Linked DNA regions of Homo sapiens: region 1 is linked to region 2. Evidence: promoter capture Hi-C in 16 types of primary human blood cells and fetal thymus (Javierre and others, 2016). All regions are on one chromosome and are shown on one strand. Each heading gives the region's core, a stretch centred on a gene start or on the middle of the fragment in contact. The rest is flanking DNA. Distances are from core to core; before and after follow the strand shown. Region 1 has its middle 44 kb from the start of TMPRSS11B. Region 2 holds the start of STAP1 (signal transducing adaptor family member 1).

Region 1 (3,111 bases), core at 187-2,686, 730 kb after region 2:
TATGGTATCTTGTTGGGAGGCAACGTTGCCCTGAATTTTTCATGCACATACCCAAGTATGTGTTACAGAGGCTAAATTCCAGGCAAGTGTGGCTAAGAAGGATCTCCCATATTCCATCCAGCCACTGTCATAACACAGATGTTCTATTCATGAACACTGAGTACCAAATAGCCACTATCCCAGTTGGAGATTCCATGAGAGGAGAGGAAAACTGAGAATAAAGGCCAAAGTAGAAATGCACCACTGTCCATGCCCCCAGTCCTATAGTCAAGGTCAAGACACTCTGCACAGGGGAGAGTCAGGCCATAAACACAGAGCTACAAATGTTTTCCCAAAGGAACTTACTTTATTTGAAACAGTGTGAAAATTGTAATCCTAAGAGTGCTCTGAAAACACGGAGGCTTTCTGGTAAATAATTAAGAGGAAGCTGTTAGCTTCAGAACACATAAATGCTAAGCCACAGGCAAACTAATTTATTAGAGGAAACCAAAGATACAGATTGAAAAAAATCTTCCTGGGGTCTGAGCAATGATCAAATACTGACCTCAAAAACTATCGCTGCAAAAGAATCACTGAATTTTATTGGATCAGACTGTGGAACAATTTATACTCTCAGGCCATTATCAAAAGTAATAGAGCACTCAATCAGCAACTTGTGAAGGCTAACAGCAGGGTTCAGCCGTAGAAGAGGCAGTCAAAGAATGTCCTCCTGCAACCACCATTATTACAGGACATGTGAGCATACCAAGGCTGCACCCTTGCATAGCAATATCAAGCTTAACACTGCAAAGGAAAGAGGCTTCGCTAAAATAGTCCATCTAGTCATCAGCCACAGATTAAAATACACAGAAAGAGGATATCTAATATCTACAGTTGCTACAATCTATTATCAAACATGTAGAGTTTTTAACACAAATTTAAATGACATGCTGAAAAGAAATCAGGAGAGTATGATTCCCACGTGAGGCAAAAGCAGGCAACAGAACCTGCCTGTTTAAGAGACAAGGTGTTGGATTTAATAGGCAAAACCTTCAAAATAATCATTATAAATATGTTCAGAGACCTAAAAGAAGTAATACTAAAGAGGAAAAGCAGGTATAGTAACAATGCAGTATCCAATAGAAGATATATGGAAAGTGATAGTAATTATATTTTTTAAAAAGAAGCAAATGGAAATATTGGAGTTGAAAACTGCAATAACTGAAATTAAAAAAAATTTACAAGAACTCAACAGTAGATATGAGATAGCAGAAGACAGAGCCAGCCAACTTGAAGGTAGGTCAGTAGACATTGTGTAACCCAAAGAACAGAAGATAGAAAATAAAGAAAAACGAAGACAGTCTTACAGAATTTTGCGACAATCTTAAGCATTTCAACATACACAAAGTGAAAGTAATAGAAAAGGAAAAAAAAGAAGAGAAGGGAACAGAAAAAAACTTACAAAAATAGTGCCTAAAGACTCTTCAAATATGATGAGACATTAATTTACAAAGGCCAGAAATACAACAAATTTCAAGTAAGATAAACACAGAGATCCAATCACAGAAACATCATAGAGAAAGACTGAGGGTAAAGACAGAAGATGGCAAAGAAACAAGAGAGAAACAGCTCATGACGTTCAAGGGCACTCCAAAATCATGAATAGCTGACTTATCATCAGAAACTATAGAACCCATAAGGCACTAGCATGTCATATTCAAACTAATGAAAGAAAAAATTCAACCTAGAACTTTATCTACCACAAAACTATTTTCCAAAACTGAAGGAAATAAAAAATAAAAAAAAAATACATTCCCAAGCCAACAAAAACAGACAACTTGTTGCTAGCAAACCTGTCTTATAAGAAACACTAAAAGAAGCTCTTCAGATTGAAACCAATTAAGCAAGCCTAATCCACACAATAAAGGAAAGAGCACCAATAAAGGTCATTATACAATTATAAAAGATAGTATAAATCTACATTTCTTCTCCTTTTTTCTTTGAACAAACTTCAGAAGGAAGTATATAGAGCATGTATACATACAGTCATATCGTTGGGCATATCACCTATAAATATACATGTCTGTCAATAACAGCACAAAAGAGATGATTGGGAGCAAAGCTTTGTTAGAGTAAGAAATGGCAACAAATAGCAACCTGAATCCACAGGAACGAATAATGAGAACCAATAATATTCTGATTTATCTTCAGATTGTATAAATCTTTCACCTTTCACTAAAGAGAACCAATAATGGTAAATAATATGATTAGTATAATCAAAGATAAAAATATATACTTGCTCTCCAAATTGTTTCCATTTCTAAAAAGACATACAATTATATAGTGTCATAAAAACAATGTAATGTTGTGTTGGTAACATACATAGATGCAATATCTATAACAATAATACCACATGTAACACAAAGAAATGATAAATGCTTAAGGGGATAGATATCCCATTTAATTTAATGTGATAATTATACATTGTATGCCTGTATCAAAATATCTCATATACCCCATAAATATATATACCTAGTATTTACTCATAAAAGTAATACTAATATCACAAAAATGGGAAGAGACTGGAACTATATGTGAATAATGTCTCTACAGAGGACAGAGATTTAAGTCAGTATAAATCTGAAGTTGATTCTGATAATTTACCATATATATCTGGTAAGCCCTAGAGCAATCACTAAGGAAATAACGATGAAAAATAGTAAAATGGAACATGTTCACTTAGTGCAAAGAAATATATATTTAAAAAGAAGAAAAAATTAAATGTATATATATGACAACAGTAAACAGCAAACGTAAATTTAATCATAATAAAAACACCACATGTAAATGGATTTTAAAAATCTAGTCAAAAGGCATATATTACAGACCATATTTTCTTTAAATCCAACCATATGCTACATAATAGGACACACTAGAAATTCACATATACAAATAGGTTAATATAAAAGGATGGAAGGAGATATACAAGGAAACAGCAAACATAATAAAGCTGAGGTGGCTATACTTATTTCAGGCAGGTAGATTTCTAACCAAAAATGTTAGTAGAGGTGAAGAAGGACATTTTACAATTGTTACAGTATAAATCCATCAGGAACACATAACAATAATAAG
Region 2 (3,020 bases), core at 306-2,805:
ACCCCTGTAAGACAAATCAAAATTCCTTCTAGTATTCTTTTCTCCCATCATTTCCTGCACTGTGCTACGCCAAATCCAATCTCTTAAGGACCATTTCCTACATGCAACCATTGAGTGCACTTTGGCCCCAGTATAGCTTTATAAATCTCACTAGATAACTGTGGGAAGTCCATCCATGAATCATAGTATCAATGGTCTGCAGCTCAGAAAGCACAAAAGAACAAAATAAAAGTTTGAAAACTTACAGCTTTCTCTGCCAGATATTTTTTTGCCAAATATCTTAGACTCCTTTGTGTTGCTGTAACAGAATGCCACAGACTGGTAATTTATAATGAACAGAAATGTATTTCGCTCATGGTTCTGGAGTCTGGAAGTCAAAGAACATGGCCAGCATCTGATGAGGACCTTCATGCAGCATCATTCCATGGCAGAAGATAGAAGAGCAAGAGAGGATGATAGCATGTGAGAAAGTGCCAAACTTGATTTTATAAAAAACCCACTTCCAGGCCAGGTGCAATGGCTCACACATGTAATCCCAGCACTTTGGGAGGCCACAGCAGGAGAATCGCTTGAGCCCAAGAGTTTGAGACCAACCTGGGCAACATAGGGAGATACTGTCTATACAAAAAATGAAAAAGTTAGCTAGGAGTGGTGGCGCGTGCCTTGTAGTCCCAGCTACTTAGGAGGCTGATGTGTGAGGATTGTTTGAGCCTGAGAGGTCAAGGCTGCAGTGAGCTGTGATTGCACCAGTGTATTCCAGCCTGGGCAACAGAGCAAGACCCTGCCTCTGAAAAAAGAGAAAGAAACCCACTCCCACAGCATTAATTAATTCATTCATTCATGAGGGCAGAGGCCTCATGACTTAATCACCTTCTAAAAGTCCCATTTCTAAACACTGTTGCATTGGGGATTAAGTTTCTAACACATAAGTTTTGGAGGACACATTCAAAACATAGCACTAAATATTCATTGGGAACTCATGTACTTGGAATATCTACTGGCAAAAAAAAAAAAAAAAGAAAGAAAGAAAAAAGAAAAAAATTCCATATTCCGTGTTCCCATAATTGTGGTTTATATTTAGTGAAGCATCAAATGAGCATGAGATACAACTATTTTTTTTATTTACACAAAACTTGACCCTAAAATATTTAACCAACAGAAGTAGTACTAATAAAATTATTCTATGAAGTAATTTTTAATGAAGCTGAGTTTATTCAAGTCATGTCTTCTGCAAATAAAAATGGACACCAATAAACAAAAACAAAGATAGAAAGAATAACTGTGTTCTTGATATCTCCCCTAAAGTTCACAATCTCTACACCTGTTTCTTTCATCTTCTGGTGATGTTAATCTTCTGTTTATTTTGCGCTTTAAATCTAAGCACATGTGGATTACCCAGAGATTGCCCTCTGAAAGTCAGTCTACACCTGTTCTTTCTTACCTCACAAAAAGTAATGGAAAAAAAAGTGTGTGTGTGTGTGTGTGCGTCTGTGTGTGTGTGTGTCCTGTTGGTGGTAGTGTTGGTGGTTAAAAAGCAATTTGGGACTTCCTCTTTGAACAGTTGCCTTTTCCTCTCACAGAAGGAAGATTTCATTTTGTTTGAGACGAGAAACCAAACCACACACCAAAGAGAGGGGTATGATGGCTAAGAAGCCCCCAAAACCAGCCCCTCGCAGGATCTTCCAGGAAAGGTTAAAGATTACTGCTCTACCTTTGTACTTTGAAGGTTTTTTATTAATCAAGCGGTCAGGATACCGGGTGAGTCTATAGATGATAATGTTAAACCTAAGACTTCTGTTTTAATTTAATATTTATTTCATGGTGATGTGATGTGTTAAGACCTCCTTGTTTCTGTTGAAATTAAATCATCTTCTCTTCTTTGAGCTCAGAAAAATGATTCCAATTTTTCATAATTTAAATACAATGTCTGGCTTAAACCTGTATGTATACACATATATAATATGTATAATAACAGAGGTTGTAATATTAAGGCACTAATATAAAAAAGTCAATAAGCTAAATTTCCAAAGAATTTATTTAAATATCACAAAAGATTTTGGCTTGGGAGATAAAATGTTTCTTGTATTTTCTCCACAATTTATTGCTATGCTTCAATGATGACATGTACCATTAAGATAAAATGATATCATGATTAAAATTAAACCTGCTCCTGTTCTGAGTCATTTGAAGTTTATAATGATCAAATTATTAAAAATGGCTTTTGTAAAAATTGTTAAAATGACAAAGTTCATACTGTTTAACATTATATATAGTTATGTGTTCTAAAATACTATTCAAGATAGTGACTTTTAATTTTTGGGGTACTACTGTGGGTATTAAGTACACTAAGCTACATAAATACCTTTGCTCTAAGAAAATCCATGAAGCATTCTGTATTTTTAAATGTAATAATTAAAACTTATAGTTAGTTAAAATCATTACTTTTAAAACAGTAATTATGGATGACTTGAAATTAATTAGAGAAATAAGCCCAAAATTGCCTGTTATTAAATAAAAAAATCATTAAGTTAGGTCAAATTTTATGAAATTGTATACTGACTAAAACTAGAAAAATTTTAAGGTTTTCAGAAATTCCATCAGAAATGTTTAATGATGCTAAAATATATTTTCTGAGGATTTATGAATACTTGTGGAAAAATTATATATATGAAAAATCTATAATAGCATATTCACATTTCTTACATATATAATCAGATCATTTACTATTTGAGAGTAAAGACATGGTAATTTGTATTCTGTTATGGATGTTAAACATGCATAAATAATTACCTTTCAGTTATATTAGAATTTTTTAGATTGATCCTATATGCTTTTAATGTAAATTCAATCTTGTCACCACAGGTAAGCCACATAGTCACACTTTGCCAGGAAAGGGAAGTTGAGAAAAAAAAATTCTAATTAGTAATTTAAATCAGGTTGTTCATTGAATGTTTTCCAAGGTATTTATAATAACTGTTTATGATAGCAGTTTTTTTTAAATGCTTAAAGAAGACATGTCA

The links. Contacts are between HindIII fragments. The CHiCAGO score rates a contact against its expected background, and 5 or more counts as called.
Region 1: a fragment that was not itself captured here is called in contact with the fragment with the promoter of STAP1 in region 2 in 1 of 17 cell types (total CD8 T cells); the score reaches 5.3 in total CD8 T cells.

What each region holds. Positions count from the first base shown.
Region 1 is chr4:68,287,824-68,290,934 of GRCh38, forward strand. No RefSeq gene overlaps it. Among named protein-coding and RNA genes, the nearest start is that of TMPRSS11B, 44 kb to the left of the region's middle. The HindIII fragment of the contact is 1,325 bases long and covers 775-2,099 here.
Region 2 is chr4:67,557,172-67,560,191 of GRCh38, forward strand. It overlaps STAP1 (signal transducing adaptor family member 1), which reads left to right and starts at 1,556. Exons shown (of 9, transcript NM_012108.4): 1 at 1,556-1,758. The coding sequence starts at 1,639. The HindIII fragment of the contact is 12,125 bases long and covers 1-3,020 here.